Linked DNA regions of Homo sapiens: regions 1, 3, 4 and 5 are each linked to region 2. The links are contacts of gene promoters, found by promoter capture Hi-C in blood cells and fetal thymus (Javierre and others, 2016). All regions are on one chromosome and are shown on one strand. Each heading gives the region's core, a stretch centred on a gene start or on the middle of the fragment in contact. The rest is flanking DNA. Distances are from core to core; before and after follow the strand shown.

Region 1 (5,798 bases), core at 1,734-4,233, 140 kb before region 2:
TCTGTCCTCTTTGGATCTCATGCACACACTCAAGGGTGTTGCTCAAACCCATGTGGGACACACTCAATATTATCTAGGTTCTTCTAGGCAACCCTGGTAGAAAAAGGCAGAGATACAGACATAGCTGGACTTGTTTTTGTTTTAGGAACCATAGAGATTTTGTGCCTGGTCATACGTTAAATGACATCTAGGAATTCTAAGGCCAAAACCTGGATTTCCATTTCCTTTAAGGACTCTTCGTTTGTGTGTGTTCGTTTTTGCATGCAAATTTACTGTCTACTTTACTTCTACTCCCATGATTTGCCACCTTGAGATATGCTCTAATGACCTCAAAGGCCACTGGTGCCAAGATCTCATATCCATTCATTTGTGTAATACCTATTAAGTGTCTACTATGGATAAAATACTATTGTAGGAATGTTGGCAAATGTAAACATGAATTTTCAAAAAACTATGGTTTACAATTTAAAAAAAAATTACAGCTTTCTAGTCTCATGGAGGCTTTATTTTCTATTTAGGGGAAAAAAAGCAGTTTCATAGTTACAAATAATCATAATAAAGAGGGATAGGGGATGAATGCTAGAGACACAGTATATACTTCATAAATTTCCATCTGATTAAGCTACCCCTGACGGAAGATATCATCCTTAGTTCAAATCTTCCTCTATCCATGCCTGTTGATTACCTTTAATATCCTAAGACATATACACTAATCACATAGATAAAATTGTCCTTCTATGCCTCATTGGTTTGCAAATATGGTCTGCATTTATCCAATTCCACCAATTGTAGAATTTTACCATTCTCTCTGACATATTTAAAATGTCAGCTAAATGTTATTTTAAAAAGAAAAGAAGAATGTGACCTCTCATGGGGAACACAAACATACAATGATGGACTACTGGGTTCATCAATATCCTTCATTCAGGATAAGAGAATAACATCTTACATTTACTTGATGTATACAGGTGGTATTTCATACGTGTGTGCTCTCTTTCTTCTAGTTACATGTGTAGTTAATGTCAACTACCCACTTAATCCTAGGTTTTCCTGAGCACAATATGGAGCAAAAATCACGTCACAGTGTCCACTATATGAGAAAAAAAAAAAAAAAAAAAGCTACTACCCTCAGCAGGCTGAGGAAAAAAAAAATAAAGAAAATGATGAAATACTTTGTAAGCATAAAAATCAACACACTGATCTTGTACCCTAACTGTTTCAGCAGGAGGCATCATGGTTCCGCTGAGTTCTCTGGCTCCTGAGGGCACCATTACACTGTGTTCCATGTGTGTGTCCTGCTCCCGCATAACATGTTCAATCACATCCCCTACAGTCCTATGCCAGGGCACATGGGGACACAGCTGCCCACACACCCTCCCCTGCCTGTAACAGTTCATGGGGATGCAGAGGGATACCCTGGGAACAGCGAGGAAGGCGGGAGAACCCTTTGAGGTGCCAATCAGCTGAACCTCACTTAAGGACAGCGGGGTCATGACCAGATCATCCTCCTAGCCTATCAGGCCTCCACCTTCATTTAGAAAGGCTGGCACAAATACAAAGTTAATTATGCTTCCCCAATATGTTTCTGTGGTTGCTGATTTGGACTCAGGCATAGAAGATATTTTTCAGAAGCAGTTTTCATCTTTAACACTTCCTTCAGTTTAGGAAAATAACACTGAATTTGCACAGTCCAATGCTGATCTTCTTGAAGTTTGGTGAGCTAAGCAAGATGGTTTTAAACAAATTAAAGAACAAATGAATCAGTCAAGGAAACAATGATTCTAAATGTTTGTAAATCACTTCCTTTTCCTACAATATTTCTAATAAGAAAGCTTATAACATACATCTTCCAGGGACCTGGGAATCCAGCTCAAGCTTAAATGCTCAAAATAGCCACTTGAAGAGCTCTACCCTTAACTTCGTATTTCAATTTGATATTATATCTGATTGACGTTTAGTAGGCCTGGTAAGTGGGCTGAATGTACATCTACGATTTTCTGAATTTCTTCCAAATGATTTAATGCTTTGTTACATGCTGATTCTCCTCACCCAAGAGCCGTCTAAAGTCACTCCACCATGGTCCATGTTGTCACTACACCTTCCTCCCGTGAGCTCTCAGACACTGACATGTCCCTTCCCTGAGTGTGCCCTGGTACTCCTCAAACTACCCCACACCAAGTATTTTTGCTCTTTCCTCCTCTGGGCCCTCTAGTGTCTTCTTTTCCCAGTCCAGGGTCCACCTCCAAAGACTCTCCAGCCTTGACTCCCTGGGAGGTCATTTTAGGACCTTGGGTCACTCACTCTCACCTACATCCTGCCACCATCACAGCCATCCATCCTCTGCTTTCTCTTCTCTATTCCCAGGTGACTGACATTTCCAACAAGGCTAATTGTTTTCACTGAAATCTTAAGTGGAAAGACCCCCCTCTTGGTTGATAATTCATTTGTTTAATTCTACAAATATTTATTGAATATCTACCACTTGTTCTACATGCTTAAAAACTAAGATCCCTGCCTCCTGGAGTTTACATAAGAAGCAAGAACATATACCAGTGTGAGAGGCTGTTAAGAGACAGGGAGAGAAAAAAAGAAATCAGAGCAAGGTAGAGAGGACCAGCAAGGCCAAAGAGGGGTGGAGCTGTAGCAGTCAGCAACAGCCTCATTGCAAAGGTCAGATTTGGAAAAAGGTTTGCAGGGGGCAAGAGATAGCCAGGTAAAGAATTTCCAGGGACAGGATAGGTCCCAAGCCTCGCGGGGGAGACAGGAGCCCAAAGAGGCCAGTGTGGCTGCAGACAGACAGCGGATGGTGAGAGAGGCGGGCTGGGAGAAGGCCTGGGAGTAAATGGGAAACAAGATCACAGGGACCCTTGGGCCACTGTAAGGCCTTTGCTGGGGGATTCTGAACACAGGAATGATATCCTCTGACTCACTTTTTAAACAGTCTCTCTAGCTACACTGTTAGGACAGACTGGAAGAGGGCAAGGAGAGAACCCAGAAGACTTGAGAGGAGTCTCTCGCATTAATCCAGGTAAGAGGGACAGACAAAGGCTGTGGCGATGGTTCCAACAGGGGGAGAACAAGCTGGTGAGACTTGACTCCCCCTGCCACTCTCCATGGCCTGCTTTCCAAACCCTTACTCACCCAAGCTCCCCCTGCCCCAGGCCAGCCTGACATTAGCTCCCTCAGCACAATCTGCCGCTACACTTCTCAATACGCAATGCTCTCCTTCCATTTGGAGCTGGCAGTATTTCTCCTTCCTCAACTCCTCCTCTAAAAGACCCTCAATTCCCTCCCCAGAGACCCCATGCGGAACCCTGCTTCAAAACTCAGACCACATTATCCTATATCTTCGATCTCTTCTCCATGCCTGGGTTTCACCCTTCTCAGCTCATTCTTGCTTTCCCAATCCTGGTAAAACCTCCCGCAGACCTTGTCACTGCTCTGAGCCACTCTGATTTCTTCTTTCTGTTTCCAGCTTACTCTAACCTGTGTCTCCCCACTCACTTCTTTACCCCTTCCTGGTCACCAACTCCACAGCCCTTTCCTGGGACCTCCCTAGCCATGGAGAGACTGTCTGCCCTCTCTGCCTGCCTTCTTCCAACTCTTCTTCTCCATTTCCTGGTTCTTATCCTAACTTCTGTCTCTGCTTCCCCTGCTTTTTCCTAAATGAAGGCACTAGCCCAGGCTTCAGTCCGTCATGCTCTCGGCCCCTTTCATGCCTGTCTCACTTTTCTGTGGATGAGTCCAGATCTTCCTTTTTAAACACTTCTCTCAGGGCTGGACTTCTGCGTTTCCAGCCACTTCAAGAGCTGACAGCACTTGAGTGTTCCACTAAACTCTCAAATAATACTGCCACAGTAGATTCCCATGGGACTAGATTTATGTCATGACACTGGTCCTAGTCCCCTGCTTATTAAGACATACCTTTATCTCCTCTCCTAAGTTATGAGCATTTTGAAAGCAAGGATCCTAGCTTATCTTTATGATTCCAAGCACCTCACAAAGCTGAGTCCTTTCACAAGTCGTTTAAGAATAAACATAAGTTAAATAAATATACCCTTAAGCTCAGCTGATCAGTGCTACCTGAAAAGTAAGCTTTTCTTTTTAAGGACTATGTGATGATAATTAAAAAAAAAAATCAATCACTATTTCCTGTAAAAGGCATTACTTGAACTAGAATTAAAATTCTCATATCCTCAAGGTTTAGATGTGTCTATTCAGAATTTTTTTTTTTTTTTTTTTGAGACGGACTTTCACTCTCATTGCTTAGGCTGGGGTTGCAGTGGCACAATCTTGGCTCACTGTAACCTCCGCCTCCCGGGTTCAAGTGTCCTGCCTCATCCTCCCAAGTAGCTGGGATTACAGGCGCCCGCCACTACGCCCAGATAATTTTTGTATTTTTGGTAGAGACAGGGTTTCACCATGTTGGCCAGGCTGGTCTCAAACTCCTGACCTCAGGTAATCTGCCCGCCTCAGCCTCCCAAAGTGCTAGGATTACAGGCGTGAGCCACTGCACCCGGCCCAGAAATATAATTTATCCAGATTTTTCAGTTAGGTCTAAGCCTAGACATGAACTAATATCCCACAAACCACAATGTTCACAGAAAGTTACACTGTTGGCCACTGAATTCTTACTGATGAGAATTTTGAGGAATTTATGAAAAGAACACTTTTCAATAAAAAGCCAAAAACAAAGTATTGAGGGTTTTTTTCTTTTGGCTCTATATAAGAAAAGAGTGAGGACAAAACATCGTGAAAAATAAGTTTTTTTCTTTTCAAAAGGACAGATGGGAAATGAGATCAGGGACTTCCAGGCCTTTGTAAGCAGCAGGCACAGCTTCCTCTCCATGTCAGTGATTTGTAGATCATTATCAGTCTCATGTAAGTAGAAGAGGAAAAGAACCAGAGGAAAAATAAAACTCAGGATGTTATTGAAAGGGAAATAGAGTAACCACATTTTTCTGTACAATGCTGAGAACACTCTAGGATTCTCCTGTATTCAAACATTTCCAAAAAGTAAAATTTCTAGGATTGTCAATTTTGAATAATCTTTGACCTGCACTCCTATCCTTTCTTTTCAATTCTCTTGCTAAGACATTTATATAGGTAATACACCATGAATATCAGTGGGAAAAGCACCTAAGGACTCACTCCTCAACCTGATTTTGCAAACAGTTCTAAGGATGACAACAGTTTCCCACCCATAAATATAGCACAGAAATCCTATAACGAAATCCTATGCTTTTTAAAAATCATTATTTTAAATACATAAAACACAAAATATACCATCTTAACCATTTTTAAGTGTACAGTTCAATGGCATTAAGTACATTCTCATTTTTCAACCATCACCACCATCCATCTCCAAAACTCTTTTCATCTTTCCAACTGCGTCTCTGTTCCCATTGAACAATAACTCCCCATTGCTCCCCACCTCCATCCCTAGTAACCAGCATTCTACTTTCTGCCTCTAATGAATTTGATTCTTTAGGGACCTTACATAGGTGGAATTGAACAGTATTTGTCCTTCTGTCACTGGCTTATCCACTGAGCATAACCTCCTCAGGGTCCATCCATATTGTAACATGGGACAGGAGTTTCTTCCCTTTTCAGGCTGAATAATATTCCATTTTTTGTAAACACCACATTTTCTTTCTCCATTTATCCCTCGATGGACACTTGGGTTGCTTCCCGCTTTCGGCTACTGTAAATAATGCTGATCTCAATAGGGGTGAACAAATCTCTCTTTGAGTCCCTGCTTCCAAGTCTTTGGGGCATATATCCAGAAGTGGTATACA
Region 2 (6,137 bases), core at 884-3,383:
GGAAGGGCAGATATTCGGGGACTACTGCACATCAGCAGTGTTGTGTCTGCACCAGCACTCCTGGGCTCCATCTACACGGCTTATTAAACCAGTACCTGCAGCACTTTGGAAATCATGGCACACTGGTACACTTTATTTACTCTTCTTCTGCCTCAAATCCCTGATGACCACGGCAGGCCCCAGATAAAGGAACCAACTTCTGTGTGAGAACAGAAAAGATGCCAAAGAAGTTGCAGGCTTTATCCTTAACATGCACTGGCAAAACTCAGGAAGATGCAGGAAGCCACACAGAAGTTAGCTGGTTATGGAAGAGATGGCCAGGTTCTGGTCTATTCCCAACTCCTGCTCTACTCCTTACCTAATCGACTTCCCTAAAATAGAAAAATTAAATCCTTGTTTACTATGGATCAAACTGGAGTTGGAGAAATTTGGAGTTGGCAGAGCTAGCAATCGAGAGAAAATTCAAACTGAGCAAACTGGATATAGAAATCAGCGAAGCTTCATCTCCAATCTCCACAAACGTCATTCACGCAATTCTGTGTCTGCCCAGGAAGGGCATCGATCTGCCACCAAAATGATGCATCCGCCCCTGTGTTAAGGGGCCCGGCACTCTGCCCCGACAATCCCCCACAGGGCCCAGACAACCACTTCCAAGGCCCATCTTCTTGCACTGTTCCAACAAACACAAGTCACACCCACCCACAAACAAGCCCGTTTCAAGAAAACAAATGCCGGCGGCAACGCAAGGAGCTGCTAAAAGTTTCCAGCTGCCCTGCAGAGCTCGCTCCTGCTCAAACGTCGCTCCACTCCCGCACCATCCAGGTGAATCGGGTTGTAGTGCGTTTCCAAATACAGCAGGACCGGCGCTGGCTGTGAAAAAGTTAATCGAAAACTTCATCTTCCTCACACCCAGAGGCCTATTCTCTAAAGACGTTCTGCCACGGGAAGATTCGTTTTGGGCTGATGGCTTTGCTTACTTAGAACCCCCAAACGTCACAGGAATTTGCACCAATACTAAATTAGCGAGGGTTCCCATCATGCCCCCCAAGCCTTCCTAAAAGGCGGCCAAACTTCAGGATACCGGCTTGGAGGTGGGGGGCGCAGGAGAGGATGCCGAAGTCCTTCCCTCCTGGAGTTCAGCCAACTCAAAGGGTTAGCAGGGGCATCTCCCACCCTGAGCGCAGACTGGATGAGGAAGCCCCCACCTCAATTCCCCTGCGCCCCTCCAAAACATGGAAGGAGAGGGAGGCCGGGGGAGGGATACGGGGGAGGGATGCGGGGGAGGGGGGAGAGTGTAATTTCCCAGTTGACAGAAAGCAGGTAAATTGGGAGAGAGCGGGGTGAAAAGAGTGACAGGGCGACATCACTCTGCGGAAATTTCCCAGGAGGAAGGGGACAGCGATGGGGACAGGATCTTGGGTGGCGGGGAGGGGTCTGGGAGTTGCAGCCCCTCCAGGACCTTCTCTTCTCCCCTGTCCAACTCCCTCCCGCCGGCCCCACCTCTTGATTCCGCGGACCCAGCAGGGTCGGCCGCTCTGCCTCAGCCCTGCCGACTAAGAGGCGCCCGGCCCGGGGCCCGCAGCTGCCTGCGCCCCCGCCATCCTCCCCCGGCCCGCGGTCGTCCCGCACTCACCAGGAGCACGGAGCCGCGCACCACCTCAGACACGCTCTGCCGCAGCTCGGCCGCCGTGCCCGGCTTACTCAGCGCCCGGGTGAACTTCCGAGTCTCCGCCGAGGCGGGGAGCAGCGGCGGCTGCGACATCCTCCTGCCCCCGCCGCCTCCGCCTCCGCCTGCTCCCGCGGCCCGGCCCGGCCGCGCGGCCGCCAGGTGCGCCCTCGGCGCCCGGCCCGCTCCGCCCGCCGCTCCCGGCGCCGCCGCCGCCTGCTCCCCCCGCTGCTCGCCGCGAGTCCGGCCGCCGCAGCCCAGGCCGCGCCCTCTGCACCGTGTCACGCCCCAAGGCGCCCCCCTCGGCGTCCGCGGCCCCCCGCGATCGCAGCAGCGCCCGGGCTCGCTCCGGGCGACCGTGCGTGTGGCGGCGGCGGCTCCCCCATGCCACCAGCCTCCCTCGGCGACCACTCGCCGGGCCGCCTCCTCGGGGCGGGGTGTCCGGCGCGGCGCGGGCGGGGCGGGGCGCCCGGACGGCGGAGGAGGGGCCGCCGCGGCGGGACGGCGGGCCAGGCAGGTCGGCGCGGCCCGGCGCTGGAGCTAGGCGGCCGGACTGGCAGGGGCGGCGTGCCGCGCGGGACCCTCACTGGGGAAGGTGGGGGGTCGGGGCCGCCTCCGCCCCGGGCCGCACGTCCGAAGACCGGAGGAGGGGACTGCGCACGCCACCAAGAGGGCGCACAGCCGAGGCTGGACGATGCGCGGTTTCGGAGCAGGGTTTCCTGCCCAGGGAGCCCGGCTGCGCTCGAGGGGACCCCGAAGTCACCGGCAGGGTCGGAGCTCGGTGCACCACGCCCCCCCTCTGCGCCCGGGGCCTCTGCGGGGACAGAGGTCTCAGGAAAGTAGCCTTTATTTATGTGGCACCGATCGGAACCCGCGGCCGGCCAGGCGGACCTGGACGGAGCGTCCCTGCTCGGAACCTGGCGCGGGGCGCCGCGCGCTCGTGTGGCGCCTCGGCCTCCCCACCGTTCAGTCCCCGGAGGCACGGAGCTCGCGGCGGGACGATGACGGTTGGGCCGGGCCAGGCGTGGGAGACTCCCAGACTCCGGCCCGCCGGGACGGCCAGCTGCGTCACCTTGGACGTGGGCAATACTTCGGAGCCTCGGTTATGTCGCCTGTAACCTGAGGACAACGGCCTGGAAGGGGCTCAGGTGACACGGCGGCCCTCACTGGGGCCGATTTAGCCGGTCTGCCGCCCCTCCGCGCCGGACCGCCAGGCGGGGTACCAGGGAAACTGCGATGCGCCGGCTTGCGAGCCCACCGTGACGCAGAGCTGGCGGCCGCTAGCGACAGCCACCCTGTGAGGGACTTTCCCCCCAATACCCTAACCGCTTTCCTGTCCCTAAGGGCCCGCTCCCGCCCCGGCTCCGTTTCTGTCTCTCTGAGGAAGCCCGGCGCAGCCTAACCCTCACAGGGCCGCGGAGAGGGCGCGCCAGGCGGGGATTTGCGCCAGGCCCGCGGCGCATGCTCAGTGGTTGGGGACTGGGCGGGTACCCCGGGCGGGGAGCCTGACTGAACGGCGGCTCTGCTGATTGGTCGGGCTGCTCACGCCACGCCCGTTGCCTTCCGATGGACAGTTCCTTACCTGCCGGGTCGGCCTCCGCAGAGAGTGGTGGTCTTGAAAACCCAGTTTTGGGAGAATACCTGCCGCGCCTCCCGCCCAAATACCCAGAGGTTTCATAGCCGCCATCGCTGCGGTGGAGGAGGCCGCCTGTTGCGTCCCACCCCACCAGAAAGCCTAACACTGGCCTGAAGCGTAATCTTAAAGTGGTAGGGGAAAATACCGATCTAGCGCAGAGAGCAAAACACCTCCGTTCTGGGTTTAATGGGCAGGTCTGGAGGTGAGGTATGCCGTCCGCACTCAATAATTACTTGCAGGATCGGATTGTTTCTCCAGTGGGTGGGGACTGCAGGATGTAGCATTGAGTGAGCCTGGCAGATTGAAAGATAAAACAAGGGTGATGATAAAAACAATTACACACTAACCCATTTCCTCCTCCGTGAAATGAGGGAATGGCCCAGACATTTTCCAGACCTCTTCTGTCCTAAGAGTGGAGCTGGGTGACAGAGCAGGTGCAAGCCGGCCTTTCCCTGCCTCCCCGGGGAACGCACTCTGTTCGGTGAGAGCAACTCAGCTCGCATTGACTCCTTTCAGCTGCAGGAGTGTGGCCGTTCAGTTCTCATTTGAACTGTTGACAACAGTTGTCTTCTGAGAATCATGAGTTAGAGCCTCCCTTTAGGCTTCTGACTCCCTCAAAAGTACCAGACAACACAAACTTTTCCCCTCTTGTTACCTTGGCTCTCTAAGCTGTATCTACTTCTATACAAGGCGAACAATTTTGTCTTTTTAAATTAAAAACAACAACAAAAGCACCTAAGGTTGTAGGGTTTTATATTCTTTTTTCTTTTCTTTTTTTAAGAGCTATATGATTACAGTAGAGTGTGTGTGTGTGTGTGTGTGTGTGTGTGTGTGTGTAGTCTAAAGAACAAAATTTCAACAAATGGTTTTAAAGATCTAATTGGCTTCTATTAGCAATGCATGAACCAGGCAGCATTCTGACTACAAAATAGACGGGAGCTCTTGTGGGAATGGAAGAACAGCTGGGTTTTGTTAAGGTAACTTAAGCAGGAACAAGGGAAAAGCATAGTGCCGAAAGCACATCGGGTAACTTCAGGTTACTCTCCTTTATGGGTTAAAGCAGAGGGGGCTGCCTTAGCTGGCTCAGGCTGACTGGGCCCCGTTTGACTGGTTGCTGTGAATCTCCTGGTTTTTGGAAAACTGGCCCTTTTGGGGATTTTCCTGTTTTTTAAAATCTCTGTTTAGTTACGTGGCACCTAACACAGTGGCTTCATTTTAGTCTGGTCTGTTGGGGCCTAGTTCAGGAGCTCAGTCCAAGACAATGACCTACCATAAATTTTATTTAAATATATGTATATCTGGAAAGTGAAGAATTCCCCAAACCTACCAATTTTATCCATATCTCTACCACTCCTAAATTCTGTACTTACTTGCTGATTCAGTATATTCTAGAATTGGCAGATTTTCATTTAGGAAGCAGAGAACAACAGACAATGTGCCAACAGTAGTCACTGGCAATGTCTAACCAAGCACAGGTTCTGACAGACAAGGCGGCATGGAAACGTGAACTAAGCCCAGGAAGATGGACCCAGCAACCCAGAGTGGAGCCTCTTCTTCCTGGTGAAGTGCTGTTGATAACAAATGGGACATTCCTAGTGTTAAAGTTTCAGCAGAAACTTGGTCCCTACTGTTCTGGGTTGAATTGTAGTCCCCCAAAAGATATATTGAAGTTCCAAACCCAGTACCTGTGAATGTGGCCTTATTGGAAATAGGTCTTTGCACATGTAACCAACTTAAGGTGAGGTCCTACTGGAATAGGTGGGCCCTAATTCAGTATGAATGGTTGTTTGTTTGTTTGTTTGTTTGTTTGTTTTGACAGAGCCTCACTCTGTTGCCCAGGCTGGAGTGCTGTGGTGCAGTCTCAGCTCACTGCAGCCTCTGCCTCCCAGGAGGCTGGGATTACAGGCACCTGTCACCACACCTGGCTAATTTTTTGTATTTTTAGTAGAGAAGGGGTTTTGCCATGTTGGCCAGGCTGAGGTCAGGTCGAACTCCTGACCTCAGGTGATCCGCCCATCTCAGCCTCCCAAGGTGCTGGGATTACAGGCGTGAGCCACCACGCCCAGCCTGAATGGTGTCTTTATAAGAAGAGACACAAATACATACACAAAGGAAAAATACTATGTGACAACAAAGGTAGGAAGGAGAATACTGCACACCTGCAAGCCACAGAACAGCAAGGATCACTGGGAACCACCAGAAACTGGAAGAGGCAAGGAAGGATTCTTCCCTAAAGTCATCAGAGGGAGCATGGCCTGCTGACACCTTGACTTCAGAATTCTAGCCTCTAGAACAGTGACAGAAGAAATTCTGTTGTTTTAAGTTTGTGGAACTTTTACAGCAGTCCTGGGAAACCAACATGCTGGCCAAAGGCTATTTTTAAAATTTCCACCAGAGTGGGCCTGGAATTGTGTGAATTCTTTTGGCATCACTATTTCCTGGAGAGCAGTCATACCTACAGAGGGGCAGAGCATCAGCCCAAAAGAGGGTGCTACCTGGCTACCTGGGATGAGGCTGACCTCTGGCTGGACTGGGTGGATGGTGTCTCAGGTACGGTAGAAGATACATCCACCTACATTAGCTTGATGGAGTAACCTCATCTTTGTTTTTCCAAACTATAGGAAGAAAGCTTTTCTTTCTGTTGAAAATTATACTAGTAGGTAGTGGAGATGAAATATAATTGCAGCCAGTTCTGAAATTTGCATGTAAATGACTGTACTACACCCAAATTTATAATTCAAGCATTACTCATGTTTAATGATAACCTCTTACTACATCATTTCCTTGTTAAGTTTGCTTTAGGATTTGTATGTGTCTTAATAACATATAATTAGT
Region 3 (5,888 bases), core at 1,082-3,581, 170 kb before region 2:
ACTGTGGTAGCAGTCAAGTCCTAAAGAAAAACAATGCTCTAAAGCCCTAGCCAGGGAGGGAGATTTTACACTTGAGAACAGCCATGTTGTCTTAAAATAAAGGTCAATGCTGAATGCTGGTCTATTTATAATCCTATATAGATAAACCATGTTTCTATTATAGTGTTTAAGATGTGGGTGTGGAGGGTCGCCATTTCACTCTAGTATCAAAAAAGAATAGAAGGGCAGTAACAGAGTAAGAGTGCAAAGGGCTAGAGAAGACAAAGATATTTCTCTCATTTAAGAAAGAATCATTCAGATACACACAAGGACACAAGTACAAGGACAGTCATTGTAGCTTTGTTTATAATAGAAAAAAATGAAAATAATAGAACAGCTAAAATAAAAAGTCTATATAGTACAAATAAAAGGGGTAAATTTAAAAATTTTTTAAAGTGCAGAATACATATGGTATGTTAGCATTTATAAAACATTTTTAAACATACTAAATCATACTGTATATATCATTATGATAGATTTATTTGTAAAGATATAAAAATGAAAGTAAAACTTTTAATAGTGCTTGTTTCTGATTGGGGTTGTGGGAGAAGAAGAGAATGGGAATAAGGACAGTGTTTAAAAAGAACTTCAACTATAACCGATGTTTTATATCTTTTAAGAATATGGAAGCTAAAAAGGCAACATCATAATAGATATTTAATCTGGGAAGTAGCAGTATGGTTGATTTGCTTTTCTTTGTGCTTTTCAGTAACTTTTAAATTTCTCAAAATTGTAAGACACAGGAATAGCTTATTTTTTTTCCAGTAAGAGTGACCCGAAACAATTTCTGTAACTCAGGCAACCCCCGGGTTTCGTGGCAAGATTACCAGGTCCTTCCTCTTTGGAACCGTGTCTATTACCCTGAGTAAGGGAGAGCACATGTATCAACATAGAAAGTACGATGCTATTATGAGAACATCTGCCTGCATATTTCAGTTATTTCTTCAGTACCTGTGATGCAGTGTTAAGCATTATCAGGGAAAAAAACACTTAAAATAATAATAAAAGGAGAATGCTTTGTAGGGTACTTTTTAGAAGACAGACCTGAAATCATACTGCATGAGTACACGTCACCTCGTAATCAGGTCAGAAAAAGAGAGAGGTAATCACAATGTAATTTTTATGATTTCAACAGATTCCATTCTGGACAAACCAGTGAAATGAGACATACTTCAACAGCATTCAACGAAGAGCAGAAGATATAAGACGATGTTACCTTGGCAAGTTCCGGCAGGTAGCTATCTAAACCGGAACCAGAACCTTCCAATTTGCTTTGTTCATCATCTAAAATGGCAAAACAGATTATCGGAATCACTTGTAATTCATAGCATTTCATTTGAAACAGGAGGAGGAAGGCCGTTTCTCTTAGGTGCCTTCAAATGAACACAGTGGTTCCCCACTCTGGATGCTCCTGGGAAACACTTGGGGTGCTTTGAAAAAATACTGATCCACAGGCTCAGTGATGAAAGTCAAAACACTGAGCAGCTGGTATAGCATGGACACCGTCCAATTAGAACTGACACTAGCTATGAACAACAGCCCACATGGACACGTCCATGAGACCCCCTAAAAGTCAGACCTGCCCAGGCTCCACCCCAGACCAACTAAATCAGAATCTTTTGTGGGACCAGGTAAATGGTATTTTTAAAAAGCTCCCAGGTACTTCTAAGGGGAAGCCAGGGTTGGGAATCACCTAAGGGTTGAAGTAAAACATGAATTGTCAAGAACATAGCCAGATTTTTCTCACCAATTTAATCTGAGGCTCCCATGCATTCTAATTATTACTAATATTTTATAATACAGTAAAATTCTATGCCAGATACTTGAGATTCATTTTCTTATTTACACTTCCCATCTTCCCAGCAATTTTCATGTTTATTCCCATTTTATAGGTGAGTCAACTGAGGCTCAGAAAACATAAGTTGTTTACCCAGGGCTACACAGCTGAAATACAGTATTTATGGCACTCAAACCCAGGTCTCCCTTTCTGCCTCCAAAGCTTTGGTTCTTCCCATTACATGATTTCCATATACGAAATGTCAGGGAAGTAAGTTATAATGTGACAAAACCTTTGCTGACAGGATATTTGTAAAGAGCTCCTATCCGTCCCACCTCTCATGTACTTGTGTAACACAGGTCTCCTTCTTATACCCACCTGGCAAAAATAAAGACACCCACAGAGTGTGTATGTGCCTGGGGGAAGCCAAGCCTATCTACCTTCGTGAGAGTCGCCATTTCGCTTTTCTTGCATTGCAGCTTCAAAGTTGAGCTGGAGGATCTTATTTAGAATTGTGATCCATTCTTCCATTTCCACTTCACTGTCTGCTGCCAAGAGATAACTACTTTTGTCCTGCATCTTGAGCTCAAAAGCAAAACGCCTGACTTTGTTGTTCTGAAATGAAAAAAGGATAAACAGACATACTTTAAAAGAATTAGAACTGCTTTAAAATAATTACTCTCTCTTGTTGGTGAGTGATATCTCATTGGCATTTAGAACCAAGCTATTTTAAATAGCTTGCCCCCTCCTCATGAAAGCCCCCCCCCATGAAATCCCATTACCGTCCACCTTCCCTGCTTCACTTTCTGCAAGCTTTATTTTTCCTTCTGACTCATTACCTGCTTTACATACTCATCTGATTCACTGTGTGTCCCTGCAGTGGAATGAAACCTCCTCAGTGCTCCCATTTTTGTCAGTGCTACACATCCTTAGTCTCTATGGACTCTACAGTGACTTGCACATAGTGGGTATTTGAAAAATATTTGTTGAATAAATGAAATTTCATGTAAAATTTTCATATTTCTTCAGCTCCTATTTTTTTAATGAAGTAGTGTATGGTATTACATTTTTAAAAGCCAACCATTATCTATTACTATGTTTGGCTTACTTATCTGGAACTTTCCCATCCTTTATGAATCCCAAAAGGTATTTGGACTCCCTGTCCGTGGCCTTGCCTCATGCCTCCAGTTTTCATGCCTGCAAGAGGGTGACTGGCTCACAGAACAAGAACAGTAGTCCATGTGCAGTAACAGACGGAAGATGAACATGCACTAGGCCAGGATTTCTCAATCTCGGTACTACTGACACTTGGGCAGCCAATTCTTTGTTGTGAGTGGCTGGTCCATGCATTGTACAATGTTTAGCGAAATTTATGGCCTTAAGCCAATAGATGCCAGTCTTCAGACATTCCAAGATGTCCTCCAGGGAGCAAAATCTCCCCAGGTTGGCCGCAGTAGACAGAGGTTCAGCTCTGAGGATCATGGCACAAGATCCCCTGTAAGGACAGGCTGAGCGATATGAAATCAAACACTCCCACTAACCTGAGCCAGCAGGACAGCCCCCCGCATAGCCACTAAAATCCTACTGGGTTATCCACACTCTCTCTAAGAGTTCCTTGGTGGAGGTCTCAGGGACAGGGCAACCCTCCCAAAAGTCTCTGTGATTCTGCAGCACAGTTCTTAGAAATGCAAAGTCAAGTGCTCCCCTTGGCAAAGCCACACACTCTTGTGCACAGACTGTCTGCTGTGGGCTCAGTAATTGCCACTTTGGATTCCACTTAAACTTCAAGGCAAGAACCAGGGAAGAAGTCAAAGGCTTGAAACAAAATGAATTTTCTCTCCTCCTTTCCCTGCATACTCACAATCATGAAAAGAGAAAGTTAAAAGTGGAGAAAAAAACATTAGGCCTCAATTCTAAATTTCTGTTTCTGAGCCTCAGTTTTCTCATCTGCAAAATAAGTATAATAAATTTCAAGGGTTCTAAAATGCTTCAAAATTTTTTAGTTTAGGCACTTTTTTTAATTCACAGCACCAGTCAACTAATTTTTTTATAATATCCATAAGTAATAATTTTTAAAAACACTTAAATCACAACTTTTGATGCTTAGTTTACAAACAGACACAGATAAAAACAAATTATTTTACTCTTTTGAAGCCTTGGATACACTTTATTAAATGAAAACACCATCAGCTGCATCTGCAAAGACAATTTGAAGGAAGAGACTTCCATTGAAGTCAGAACCTTAGATTTTGAAATGCACCCCGGAGACTAATTGATAGCTCAGGGCAGTTGTACTTATAAACATCTGTCCCTGGGCCAGAAACAGGCAGCAAAACTCTCTTATAAAACAAAAATAATTACTTCCTACTTTAAAAAATGAGGTTGCCAAATACATTTAGTTTTGCTTTAACCTTCTTTTTAAAGTCAGTGCCAGAAAATTCAGCTAAAAAGTAACTTAAAGGTCTTTTGACTAAAGAATACAAATAAAACTCCTACTTGGGAATCCCACCCAAGAAGTCAATTCACTGTCACTGATAAATCACTCTGGCACTCCTTACTTCACAGACATTGTCAATGAACATACTCTGATATAATTAGATTGTTCATAGTGGTGGCCTTCAGAGAAGGCTGAATTGCCAGCTAAGAGACATCCACATTAGCTGTTGACTGAAAACAATTTTCAGTGAGCATTAAGTGGTGCTACAGTCTTGAACGTGGGCCCAAATATACTTTCATGTATTTTACCTTTTTTTTTCTTTTTTTTTTTTTCGGCAGGGCGGGGGTACTGCACAGTGGTATTTTGTTTGTTTGCTTTTTGTATCCTCTCAAATTACCTGTTGGTGTTTTTTATTTATTTTTCAAAGTGGTTTTTAAAGTTAGTTACCAATAACTAAAGTTACCAAAGTTTAACTCAAATTCTGTATTTCTTGCTTTTTGAGAAACCAGATGATCTGGCACCTTTGAGCCGGGGGTTCCACCTGGCGGCACCAGCTGCAGGTGGGCAGGAGATGCCCCCTTTAAATGGGGCACTGGGCTCCAGGTCACCCCGGCATTCCCTATTGCTTTGCAACCAGGCCTCTCTGTCACTTAATTGACCTCCTTGGTCCCTGCAGACATCTGATTCTGGACCCCTCCCTTCCACTGCTGACCATAAGGAAGAAACAGGATCTGGACTTAGCCTCCCACCATCATTGCTAGAAAAGTGGACAAAATACATGAAATAACTGTTTTCAGATAGGGGACAAAAGGCAGTGCAGCCCTTTCTCTGTAGAAGGGAAAGACTGAAGTGAGCCCCAAATTGCCTCAGCTTTCTGCCTGGAGGCAGTATCTGAATTGCAGCACAGGAAGGGGAATCCAAAAAGAGCCCTGCCATCTTGCTGAGTAGAAGACACTGACGAGACCTGGGGAAGACCAAGGTGGCCAGAATATGCAGGGCAGAGTCTCCAGAATGACGGGAAATAAAACAGCACAAAGATAAGAAAGAGCCGAGCTCCAGAAAGATCCACCGAGTCACACATGCATTAGGCATATATTTTCTATTTATATGTTATACCTTATTTTCTATTTATATGTTATAACTTAACAAAAAAGCTTACCAAAGCATAAAATAAAAATCAAGACACAACAACCAAAATTTTAGAACACTAAAGAGAAGACCACAAAGAACAGGGATTTCGAATAACATCAGAACCTTCCAAACGACAGTGGAAACTAGATGGCAATGGGATGCCCTTGAAATTCCAAGGTAAAATGATTTCACTTTGAATTTTATAACTAGCCAAACTATGAGTCAAGCATGAATGCAAAAATTAAGATATGAACAGATACCCTAATTCTCAAAAAATTAACATCTCACACACAATTCCTCAGAAAGCTGCAGAAGATGTGCTCCCCCAAAACAAGAAAGTAGAACAAGAAAGAGGAAGGCATAAGGTCCCAGAAACAGGAAACCCAACACAGGAAGGAAGACAGGCCGAATGTCTACATGGCAGGTGTGTGGGGCAGGAAAGCAATTCATCCAGACTAGAGGCCAAAGGAGGGTGCCAGGAGCTAAAATCCGATCTACCAGCAC
Region 4 (5,539 bases), core at 2,528-5,027, 180 kb after region 2:
ATGGTCAGCAACATGTAAATCTGCTCAACTTTTTATTAATAATTGGGAAAATGAAAATTAAAACCACAGCAGGGTATTATCCATTCGCCAGAATGCCTACGATGAAAAAGACGGACAGTGCAAAGTGCTGGCAAGGATGTTGAGTGATGAGGGTATCGAGTAACAAGGAACATTGCTGGTGGGAGTTTAAATATGGAAAACAGTTTAAGTATTAAAATGAAGATACCAACACTCCATGACTCAGAGTCCACTCCTAGGTCTATAACCAGTAAAAACACATGCTGCGTACCAGGAGACATGGACAAGAATGTTCACGGTAACATTATTTACAACAACTCCAAATTAGGAACAACCTGAATGTTCAACTATAGCATGAATAAGTCACTTGTGGTGTAGGCATAGAGTGGAGTGCAAGTCACAATCACAATTGATGATACACAGGGCAGATAGAACAACATGGATGAATCTCATGAATCTAGTGTTAAGTTGAAAAAGCCAGACATGAAGGAATTCATATCATATGATTCCATTTGTATAAATTTCAAAAAGCAGATGAAATGAAAATACAGTGCTTAGGATTTCATGCTTAGGTGGTAAACCTTTTGGGTGGGGTGTGGGCATGTGTAATAATAAGGAAGGGTCCCCCATCATCTGTATGGCAGGATCCTGGAGCTGTTGCTTTTCTTACCCTCACCACACTTAGGCCCAAAGAGATCAAGGAAGGGAGAGGTTACTAGAACTTGGAAGGAGAGACCCCAGTCAAGTCAGCTGTCTTGGAGCAGTGCTTTTCTTTTGAGAGACGGTAAGCTTGAGGTTCCCTTACAGGAAGGAACCAGGGAAATGTACACTGTGACCTCAGGTTCCTCTTGGCCTAAATCTCCCCTGAGGCTCCTGTTAGCAGGAAGCCAGGGGCCCATGAGCCTTTGCATAGAGTTTGGACCCACCAGCCTCTGGGACAGAGAACAGGCTAGGGAAGGGAAAAGAAGCAAATGGATTTTCTGGCATGCTGTACTTTTCTGTATATGTGTTACCTTTCCTATTTAAAAACTGCCTTATAGCTTGTGTAAAGTGCATGCTGTAGACACTAAGCACTAGTTCTCTTGGCTTCGTTTGTCCCCTTTTTTTCTTTGTAGCTTATTTAAATTTTTCCTGTCTTTAGACTGGGACTGGATAGCTGTGCAGGAGCCCAGCATGTGCCACTAACTGACCAGGTTGTCTTAACCATGTTAGCTCATTTCTCTGATGGTCACTCTCCCCAGGGGCAGTTGGGTGAGGCCTTCTGTGAGGGGTCATCCACTTCCGGCCTTGTGTGATTTGAAGGCATTCCTCTCCCCAACTCTTTGCATTGCAGAGAGTATTTTACCTTTGGTCTTCCTCTGAATTTCTGTAGGACTGTGGATAGGAGCCGGCAGGATAGGAGCTTGGAGGCTGCATGGAAGCCTGAATGCGTCCAGGATGCATTTCCTAAGTCCTCATCCCAGGGAGGAAAACCAAGAATGTGTCTGCTGAAGTTTGGGCCTACTCTAAATGCAAAGCACTCAGTCCCCTGATGGGGTCACATTAGTTCCTGATCTTTGCCATCGCTGTTTTTTTTTTTTTTTTTAATTGTTCTTCAGTGTGTATGTTTTTTACCATATTTTAAATTTATTTTTAAGTCGACCTCTTGGAGACATTATAATCAACCTTTAGAGGAAGACGTGTTGTTTTTTTCTTGGTAATAAAACTGCATTGATTTTGGTTACTCAGACAAGGTATTTACCAGAACTCTCCCTTGTATGCTTATAAAATAAAACTAGTACTCCATTCAGTTGAATATTTGCAGCAATGTTATCTTCTTATTGCTAATACCATTTGTATGGGTAGACTTTATGAGAAGTTTATGACTTTCAGCTCATACAGCTTCTTGCGCTCAGCAAGCCACAGTCTAAAGAGAGTCTTAACTGAGAAGGGAAGGAAGGAGGCAGGCAGGACCACCCTGAGACCCACAGGCCAGCTGCCGCTGTGCTTCTTTGGAAAAAAGGTTCTCAGACTGTGTTGGCTTACATCTTTCTGCCTCTGGTGTAGGATTTGCTCTTCTAACATGAATGGAACATTTGATTTAGGATCAGTAATTACAGGTTTTAGAACTGGAGTTTGAAGTATCTGTGACACATCTCTCTTTGACAGTCATGTGGGTACTGATCCCTGATTGCACTTTCACCCCTTTTCTTCTTCTTGTTCTCGTTTTGTGTGTGCCTTGTGAACAAGGACCTGGCACGTGCGTCTTCAAACGTTTCAGCGCATCTAGAGTAGTGCTTCACCCAGCAGGCCCTCAGTTAACAGGCATATGGATTCGACTGGTGTTTGTGTTTTTCTGTAAGAAAGGTTATGCCATGTCTCAAAAAATGAATGGCTAATGTTTCTAGGTAGATACAATTACAAAGACGTACCAAATAAAATAATGAGACAAAAAGAAATAGGTAGATTGGGATTGGCTGTGTAGAGGTTTTAAGGTAAAAGTGGGCAAGTTAAAAAGGTTTCGTATCAGAGAAGTTAGTTGCAATTTATTGAATGTAGGAGTACTCACACAGTTTATTTGAATATGAAATAGATCCAGATTTCTTATGTATGGTCTCCGGTTTTCCATACCGATTGATAGTTCAGGGCTGCTTTGACATAAATACTGTGCTTCTACTGCCACCTACAGATGATTAGTGGGTCTTGGAGCTCTTCACCTTTACCCCTTCTAAAGTCTCTTTGAAATTGAAATAATTTTTTTTAAAAGCTATTAATTGGTAGAATATTATAAAATATTTTAATGTTACTTTATGAATATTTCTATATTATATTACATAATACTATATAATATGTAGCTTTATATAATAGATATGAATGTATTCCTCTAAAACAAGGTGGCCAATCTTCTGGCTTCCCTTGGCCACATTGGGAGAACTGTCTTGGGCCACACATAAAATACACTAACACTAATGATAGCTGATGATCAAAAAAAAAATCATGGAAAAAACTCATAATATTTTAAGAAAGTGTACTAATTTGTGTTGGACTGCATTCAAAGCTGTCCTGGGCCCATGTGGCCCATGGGCTGCAGGTTGGACAAGCTTACTCTAAAACATTTTGGCTTGTAGACCATTTCTGCCCTCTTTGGAAGCATCCTCTTTTTTAGGAAACAGTTTTTCTCTGTAGGACTATGTGTATTCCTGGGCTAGGGCCTTGAGAAGATTCCATTTTAACTCTTATTTGTATCTGATATTATACTAAGATATTAAACATAAATGTGGCCTTAGAACAAATTTGACATGTTAAATATATATATATATGTATTAGACAATTTATCGTCTTAACCATGTTTAAATGTGCAGTTCAGTAGTGTTAAGTTCATTCACACTGCTGTGCAGCCAACCTCCAGGACATTTTCATCTTCCCAGACTGAAAGCCTGTACCCATCATACAGCAAATATCTCTTCAGTCCCTACTTTCAGTTCTTTTGGGTTATATCCCTGAAAGTGAAATTGCCGGATCGTGTGGTAATTCTGGTTTTAGTTTGTTGGGGAATGGCTGTATCGTTTTCCCCAGCAGCTGCACCAGCAACACAATGCCCAGTTTCTCCCTATCTTGGCTCGCAGGCACACCTCTCTCACACTCGCCCTTCCCTCCCCTCCCTCCCTTCCTTTCCTGTAGTAGCCATCCTCATGGGCATAAGGTGGTGTCTCATTGTGGTTTCATTTCCATTTCCGATGATGAGTGACTTCAAGAATCTTTTCATGGGCTTCTTGGCCATTTATATATATTTCTTCTTTAGAGAATTGCCTATTCAAGTTCTTTGCCCATTTGTTAATCTTTCTTGGTTGTTGAGCTGTAGGAGCTCTTTATGTAATCTAGATGTTAATCCCTTATCAGATGATTTGCAAATATTTTTTCTCTTACTCCGTAGGGTGCCTCTTTTCTTTGTTGATTGTGTCCTTTGATGCAATTTTTGGAGCATATTTTAGGCTTGCTCATTTATCATATTTTGATGATAAGGATGAATTTCATAGCTTTAGATTTCTAAATGGTGAGGGGAAGGGAGGGGAGGTTATCCTGAGTAAAATCAATGAGTCCTTTTGGAACCTTTCCTCATGACTTAAGCCGAAGCAGTATTTTCCTGCAGTCCTCAGCACCTTTGCCTTGTCCAGGAGGATATAAGTAAGGAAGGAAGAAACTAGCTCTGTTCCAGAGTCTGCTCACTTCAGAGCCTTCCACTTGCTACTGCTGCTTTCTTATGCTCTGAAAGGTATCTGCCTTTATTATTATAGTCATTTGAAATTGAAAGAGTAACATTTATCTTTTTGTAGCATTCTTGGTCCCTGCTGTTCTGATTAATATTTTATCAGTGATAAAAAATACCAAAATATAGTGTGTTTGCTCATCAGATTTGCAAATTACAAAAACTAGGAGGATATTTCAGTAATGGTGGAGGCTAAGCTTCTGTAACAAACCGCTGACACAGTGGCTCAAAGAGCGCAGATGTTCATTTCACTTTTGTAACCACCCTGTGGGGTAGGCAGGCTCTGTACCGGTAAGTCGTCAAGGGCCTGGTCTGGTGGAGCACCTCTGCTTTCCTCAACATGTGCCTTCCAAGGAGGCTCCATGGCTTCTGCTTCCAGCTGGTGTGGAAGAAAGAAGGGGCATGCAGGAGGAGGGATTGCCTTTCCCCAGGTGCCTTCAAGGTTGCAGATGTCACTCCTGCTCCCAAACCATTGGCAAGAACTTGGTCACGTGGCCACACCTAATCACAGGGAGGCTGGGAGATGTAATCTTACCTGGGCAGTTGTGTCCCTGGAGATAAGGGAACAGTGGGTTTTCGGGGAGCTGCTAGCAGTCTTCTCAGAAGAACAATAGCTCTAACACATTAGCTGCCTCAGCAAGCTGGAGTTTTGGGCTTTATAGTCAAAATATGAAACATAGAAGGAGGCCAGGCATGGTGGCTCTCACCTGTAATCTCGGCATTTTGGGAGGCCAAGGCAGGCAGATCGTTTGAGTCCTGGAGACCATCCTGGGCAACATAGCAAAACCTTGTGTTTACATAAAATACAAAAAATTAGCCAGGCGTGGTGGCATGTGCCTGTAGTCTCAGCTACCTAGGAGGCTGAGGTGGGAGGATCACCTGAGCCTGGAGGGCCGAGGCTGCAGTGAGCCATGATCCTGTCACTGCACTCCATTCAGCCTGGGCTACAGAGTGAGACTCTGTCTCAAAAAAAAAAAAAAAAAAAAAAAGAAACACAAAAGGTAAAGAAGGTAAGAGAGAGAACATTAGGTCTTTCTCTTGAGTCTTAAAAATCAGCTGTAGAGGCACTGAATGATAGAGTTGTTTGGCTTGTGAAATGGCATCATGGAGTGACTGCCAGTTGACACTAATATGCCCCTAGATGCCATTTGTAGGATTACAGGGAAACAAGGATGTTGCTGGTGGTCCAGGTTGGCATCAGGATGGGGTGGAGATGGAGATTGGCCATGGGAGAAACAGGTGGAGAACAGGCATTGCTTACCCCAGAGAGAAGAA
Region 5 (5,711 bases), core at 1,244-3,743, 220 kb before region 2:
TATGAGCTCAACTCTCTTCAAACGTAAAAAGAATACAGGACATTAATAAAGACTCAACATACAAACATTAAAAGCATGTAAAAAAGCCACATTGCTTGTGATTTTGATTACTGCCACCACTATGGACAAGGGCTATGAAAATAGTAGAATAATGAATTTTGGGGGTGAAGCAGGGATGTTTGTTTTACTTCTTAAAGAAACATCCTAGAGTACCCAGTGACTTCAGGAGCAAAAAACCGGATGCCTCCCTGGGATGTTACAGCAATGTCTTAGTTCCAGTGAAAAAATTCACTAATTTATGGCAAGTTTAAAAATTGATCAAATTATATAGGAAATACTTAACAGAACAGCATATGGAAGCAGTTCAGCCATCACTTGCATTCTTTATTTTTTAGAGGAGGAAAATGCAAGAAAGCAAGCGTCATACCCCACACCTACCTACAGGAGTGTCATTTGACTCCACAGTTGGTGAAAGAAAAGCTAATTCATAAGAAAAAAGGAAAAGTGAAACAAATAAAAATAAGCTATAGCAACTGAAATAGATTCCTTTTCTTTAAGCAAAGGGATTTTTCAATGAAATAGCCATACTGGCATGATCTGTAGTCTGATAAGTTTGCTGAAAAGTAAGTTCCCATATTTTACCAATACTTTTTGAAATGGAAATTTCATAAGAAAAAAATTAATTCATCAATGAAAAAAATCAGAAAATTCAAATATCATGTTTGAATCAATTATCTTTTCTTATTGAAAATAAATGTCTCTGTTTGTGAAAAGGTTAATAGAAATAAAGATGGATTACCTTGGTATCTTTGAATCCTGCCTTTTCCAAATGGCATTGGTAAGTTCAACGGAATATAATGTTCATGGTTGCACACTACACGGAGAAATTCAAACTTGTATTCAAAGAGGGTCTGCAGGAAGAAGTGTGTAGTCATAAATACCTCACTGGATATTTTATACAGGATTCTAAAAAACCTATTAGCAATAGTATGCTAGAAATAGTCATTAGCTTCTTGACCTTCTTAGAACTGCACACTCTATTGCACTGTACAGATTTCAGGATGGCTGCAGGGATTGATTTGAAAACTAAGGACACATTTCAATAAACAATGTCTTCAATTGATTTTTAGGGCTCCTCCTACTTCAATGAAGGACTTCAGGTAGCTTATAATTACAGACACAGGCTCAATACAATAAAAAAATTAGTAAGGCAGAGCTTTAAAAAAAAAAAAGGAAAAAGATAATTCTACCAGAGAAAGGCTACATGGTGACTTCTGTTACCAGTAACAACCCCCGCACTACCTTTGGGTCTCCAGGAGCAAAACAGCTAATGTAGTTGTTGATCTGCTTGAAGACAAAGCCCCTGTCCATGAAGGTGAAACATCTCTGTGGAGGAAAACAAGCAAAAAAGTTATTTCAGGTCCAAACATTTCGGAAATTTGGATTCAAAGCAGCATTTATTGCTAATAAGTTTATCCACTGACATAAAAAACATGCCATCAACATTGCCAGAGCACCTACTCTATTCTAGTCACCCTGCTAGACAGCTGGTAAAAAGCACATCTTTGTCCCATAACTGATATCCTCTTCCCTGGAGGTCCCCACCTTGATGAAGACAGCAAGGCTATGATTCGCGTTCTTAGATGCCTCTGGATTATCTCGAAACTTCTGAGTGATGTGTGGCATCAGCATATTTACAACGGTTTCCACTGCATGATGATAGGATGCAGGAAATCTCTGGTTTCGCAGCAACTAAAAAGAATTCAGAGCAAACATTTATTATTTATTAAGTTGCAATCATTTGGGAGGAAAAAATATCTCATCCCTGAGTCCATCTTAAAAAACCCAGAGTTTCTAGCTGGGTGCTGTGGCTCACACTTGTAACCCCAGCACTTTGGGAAGCCAAGTTGGGAGGATCACTTGAGCCCAGGGGTTTAAGACCAGCCCAGGCAACATAGCAAGATTCCATCTGTACAATAATTAGGTGGGTGTGGTGGTATGCACCTGTAGTCCCAGTTACTCAGGAGGCTGAGGTGGTAGGATTGCTGGAGCCCAGCAGTCTGAGGCTGCAGTGAGCCAAGATCAGCCACTGTACTCCAGCCAGGGTGACAAAGCAAGGCCCAGTCTCAAAAAACCCCATAAAACCTCAGAGTCCTAGTCTTGTTTATCTGAAATTGGAAAAAATGAATTAACCCTCCTTCTTTCAAAGTACTGTGAAAGTGTTCAAATACTTCAAATAAGTGCTGTGGATTAAAACTGGAACCTCAAACTTCAGCGTAATAAAGATCACCTAAAAAGTGTTTGTAAAAAGGTGGAGCTTCTGCATCCATTCCCAAAGATTCTGATTCAGGAGCCTGGCAGCGGGTGCAGGGAGAAGGGGCAAGAACCTGCATTTTTACTGAGCATCTTTGATGATTCTGATGCCTGTACCTCTCAGAGATCTCTTTAGAAAGCACTGGCTTACATTTAAGCTCCAAATATTCAAACTGAAAATACGGATTTTGATGACCGTGCATGATTAGTTAAAACTGCTTGGCAGCAGTCTTCTCACAATCAACTTTACACAGTAATCTTTCCCCAACAGGAACCTACAAAATTACACTCAGATTACTTAGCAATTAGCTAACACTTATGTATATCTTCTACATGTCAGACACTGCACTACATATTTGTATGTACTTTTTCATTCAATTCTTGTAATACCCCTATAAGTTTAATCCTCATTTGTTAAAGGGTCAGAGAGGTTAGGTACATGTGTCCTCAGTCACACAACTAACAACAACGATTCAGACCCAGGTCTACCACAGAATCCAAAACTTGGGCATTTTCTGTTACATGAAGCTGCACTTCCCCTGTGTCTATAAACAGAATAATTTACTGAGAGCCTGAAGTAGGAAGGATGCTCCATTACATTGATCCATTCATGCATTTAATTCTAACAGCCACAAGAGGGGGGTATTTTCATCCCCATTTTACAGACAGGAAAACTGAGGCTTAGAGAGCTCACTAAAAAGTACTAACTGACCTTTAATAAAACTGTCCTTGTCTTCCTCCTTTTAGTAACTGAAGAGTAATGGTTTTACAGGGACACATGGCTGCCCAGCCAGACTATATTTTCCAGTCTAACTTACCACTAGGTATGAGCCACATGACCAAATTATGGAAGGGATGCGTGCCTTGTTTAGGCCATGCTCCTAAAAGGAGCCGCTGGCCTCCCTTGTTCCTTCCTGTGCCACTGCCTGGACTGTGCTGTGGCAGTGAGCCAGCTTCTCAGCCACGTGGATGAGGTGAACATCGCAGGCTGGATAACTGGATTGGAGGAGCTTGAGTCACTGAATGATCTTGGGGAACTAGCTGCCCTGTTCTCCAAACTGCCTACCAACTCATGATTGTCCAAGAGAGAAATGAACCTTCTGTCGAATTTAAACCACTATTATTATGGCCTGTTTTTGAGCAGCCAAACCAATGTCCCAATATCAAACAAATAGTATTTTCTAAAACTGGGAACTGCAACCTAGACATTTCTGACATGACAGCAGGCATTATATTATGCATTAAATGCCAGAACCTATTAGGAATATTTGAAATACCAGCTTTATAACAATTTCAATTCTCAAACCAATAACGAGGAAATGTTTATAACCTTACATAGAGTCAAGAATCCAATGAGGAAAGGATCAGTAACAAAAATGTGAAGCTCACCAACTTTAAAAAACAGAATGGCAAAATGTGAAATTCCAAAGGGATTTTGTTGCATATGTGCCACCAATAACTCTATATCCTGAGATGACAGCATCAATAGATGACCAATTTCCAAGACCGCAGGCAAGGCCAACTCTAACCCCCGGCATGACTGCTAACTACCCAAGCTGGCCACTCCTGAAAAAGAGGTATCCCAAGAAATGCTTGTGGCCTTCACAATGGGGCTGAGTCAATGGCTGCTAAAACCAGGAAAAGTAGATGGAGAACTCTATCATGGACAGGTTGAGTGGGCACCATGTAAACCTATTAATCAACATTATTATAACTAAAAGTAGAACAGCTGGGTATATATGCCTCCTGATGTGATGCAATAGTAACAGCTATGAGGTATCCTTGCCAGAAAAAAAATCAAACCTGAATCAAATTAAGTCTCTAGATCCAACCACAAGTTCACAGGGAACACGGGGCAGAGAACCACGTATGTAACACGGTGAGGCTACCATCAGCCAAATCTAAACTGTGGGGAATTCTGCTGGACAAATGACCCACTTTCTTCAACAAATATGTTGCCAAAAAAAAAAAAAAAGTCCAAACAGATGAAAAGAGAACAGTTTAAGAATCAAAGAAACCTCAGAAACACAGCAACTAAATGCAAGGTGTGAACTTTGTTTAGATCCGGAAGCAGACAAACCCAACTATAGGATGACATTTTTGAGACACCTGGGGAAAACTGAATATAGACTGGGTGTTAGATGATAATAAAGACGTTTTGCTAATTTTGTGTGGTGTGATGTTGGTAGTTATATCTTTTTTAAAGGCTTATCTGTTAGAGATGACATGCTAAAAGTGTCTAAGATGGAGTGAGAAAATAGCTGGGAACGGCTTAAAATACTACAAGGTAAAAATGTGAGGGTGGGTATGTATCAAGCAAGGGCAGTAGAACATTGACAAGTGGGGAGGCTAATCCCTCTACTTCTGCACTTATTAGAAAATATAGTAAAATGTTTGTATTAAAAAGAAAGAATACATGGAGAAGAATGATGGATAATTTACATACCAACCCATCATTAGTGCTGTTCAGTGACTAGGCAATGACAACTCATGCCTGTGAAGGCTGAAATGAAGTTCTCCCTGCAGTGGCAAATAGCTGTTGTTAAGAGTCCTAATTGTCAATAAAACAAACTAAAGTCTTTTTACGAGGTATCATACACATTTCAAGGTAATGAAGACCTAAGCAATAGAATGTTTTTATGGAGATTACTATAAACTGAAACAGAAGAGGAAAATCTAAGATGATGCTCAGGTAGTGAGTACCTGATAGAGGCTTGGAGAAGAGGACGCTGAGACACTAAGGGACTTCTCAGCCAAACCAACCTCAACTCCCTGCCACGTCCTGCTGGAGGATCTCTTGCCGTGTGCTGCGCTGCACTGCAGCATCCCTTTCTGTCCTGGCACCACCTGACAGGTGCTGCCTGTGTGGGGTCAGCCAGCCCAGCACCTGTCCTCACAAGATCAGCCTCTCTAGCCACATGCGGGATGCCATGCCCCCATCCTCTGCGAGCCACACTTATGTGCTGCCCGCTGGCTGCTCAGCGCCTACCAACTGACTCCTCGAATGAACGGGATCTCCCTGAAGACCCACACTCAGCCTGGCTGTGGAGGCCCCTGTGGACGCTGCGGTTAACAGCCAGGTCTTCGTAGAGACCCAGGATGGGCTACTCCCCGCCCTACAGGTCATCTGCTCTCCCACAGCTGTGCTGCCCAATCATTGCTTCATGGGTGAGGACTTCGGAATGGTCTTCAAATGTTCACTTCTTTGTTCTGCACTGTGTTCTTCCACTCTCTGGTGTGGTTTAGAGGCCTCTTCTCTATGGGCTATTTTACTGCTTTCCGACGTAAATAAGACTTTTAATTAAGAAACTTTCTCTTTGTGGCTTAGCAAACAACAAAAGTAATGGGGCTGAGAAGAAATTTACCAATGACATTTCCCTGCATTCTGGTTACTCCCC

What was found. The method cuts DNA at HindIII sites, captures the fragments that hold promoters and counts their contacts. A CHiCAGO score of 5 or more calls a contact.
Region 1: a fragment that was not itself captured here is called in contact with the fragment with the promoter of DOCK9-DT in region 2 in 2 of 17 cell types (naive CD8 T cells and endothelial precursors); the score reaches 5.5 in naive CD8 T cells.
Region 3: a contact is called between a fragment that was not itself captured here and the fragment with the promoter of DOCK9-DT in region 2, in 3 of 17 cell types (activated CD4 T cells, non-activated CD4 T cells and naive CD4 T cells). The highest score is 6.0, in activated CD4 T cells.
Region 4: a contact is called between a fragment that was not itself captured here and the fragment with the promoter of DOCK9-DT in region 2, in 6 of 17 cell types (total CD8 T cells, activated CD4 T cells, total CD4 T cells and 3 more). The highest score is 8.8, in total CD8 T cells.
Region 5: a fragment that was not itself captured here is called in contact with the fragment with the promoter of DOCK9-DT in region 2 in 1 of 17 cell types (naive CD8 T cells); the score reaches 5.2 in naive CD8 T cells.

The regions. Positions count from the first base shown.
Region 1 is chr13:98,943,284-98,949,081 of GRCh38, forward strand. The region is part of intron 2 of DOCK9 (dedicator of cytokinesis 9); the gene reads right to left. Among named protein-coding and RNA genes, the nearest start is that of DOCK9, 32 kb to the right of the region's middle. The HindIII fragment of the contact is 2,220 bases long and covers 1,874-4,093 here.
Region 2 is chr13:99,084,590-99,090,726 of GRCh38, forward strand. It overlaps DOCK9-DT (DOCK9 divergent transcript), which reads left to right and starts at 2,134. Exons shown (of 1, transcript NR_047482.1): 1 at 2,134-4,036. It also overlaps a transcript of DOCK9 not described here. RefSeq lists silencers at 1,466-1,945, 1,986-2,295, 2,386-2,445, 3,026-3,255 and enhancers at 2,136-2,697, 3,260-3,819. The HindIII fragment of the contact is 5,433 bases long and covers 497-5,929 here.
Region 3 is chr13:98,913,073-98,918,960 of GRCh38, forward strand. It overlaps DOCK9 (dedicator of cytokinesis 9), which reads right to left. Exons shown (of 53, transcript NM_001366683.2): 8 at 2,257-2,431; 9 at 1,256-1,323. Among named protein-coding and RNA genes, the nearest start is that of DOCK9, 62 kb to the right of the region's middle. The HindIII fragment of the contact is 591 bases long and covers 2,037-2,627 here.
Region 4 is chr13:99,263,382-99,268,920 of GRCh38, forward strand. The region is part of intron 4 of UBAC2 (UBA domain containing 2); the gene reads left to right. Among named protein-coding and RNA genes, the nearest start is that of GPR18, 7.8 kb to the left of the region's middle. The HindIII fragment of the contact is 1,363 bases long and covers 3,097-4,459 here.
Region 5 is chr13:98,866,626-98,872,336 of GRCh38, forward strand. DOCK9 (dedicator of cytokinesis 9) reads right to left here. Exons shown (of 53, transcript NM_001366683.2): 28 at 1,606-1,752; 29 at 1,303-1,386; 30 at 800-911. Among named protein-coding and RNA genes, the nearest start is that of DOCK9-AS1, 37 kb to the left of the region's middle. The HindIII fragment of the contact is 8,290 bases long and covers 1-5,711 here.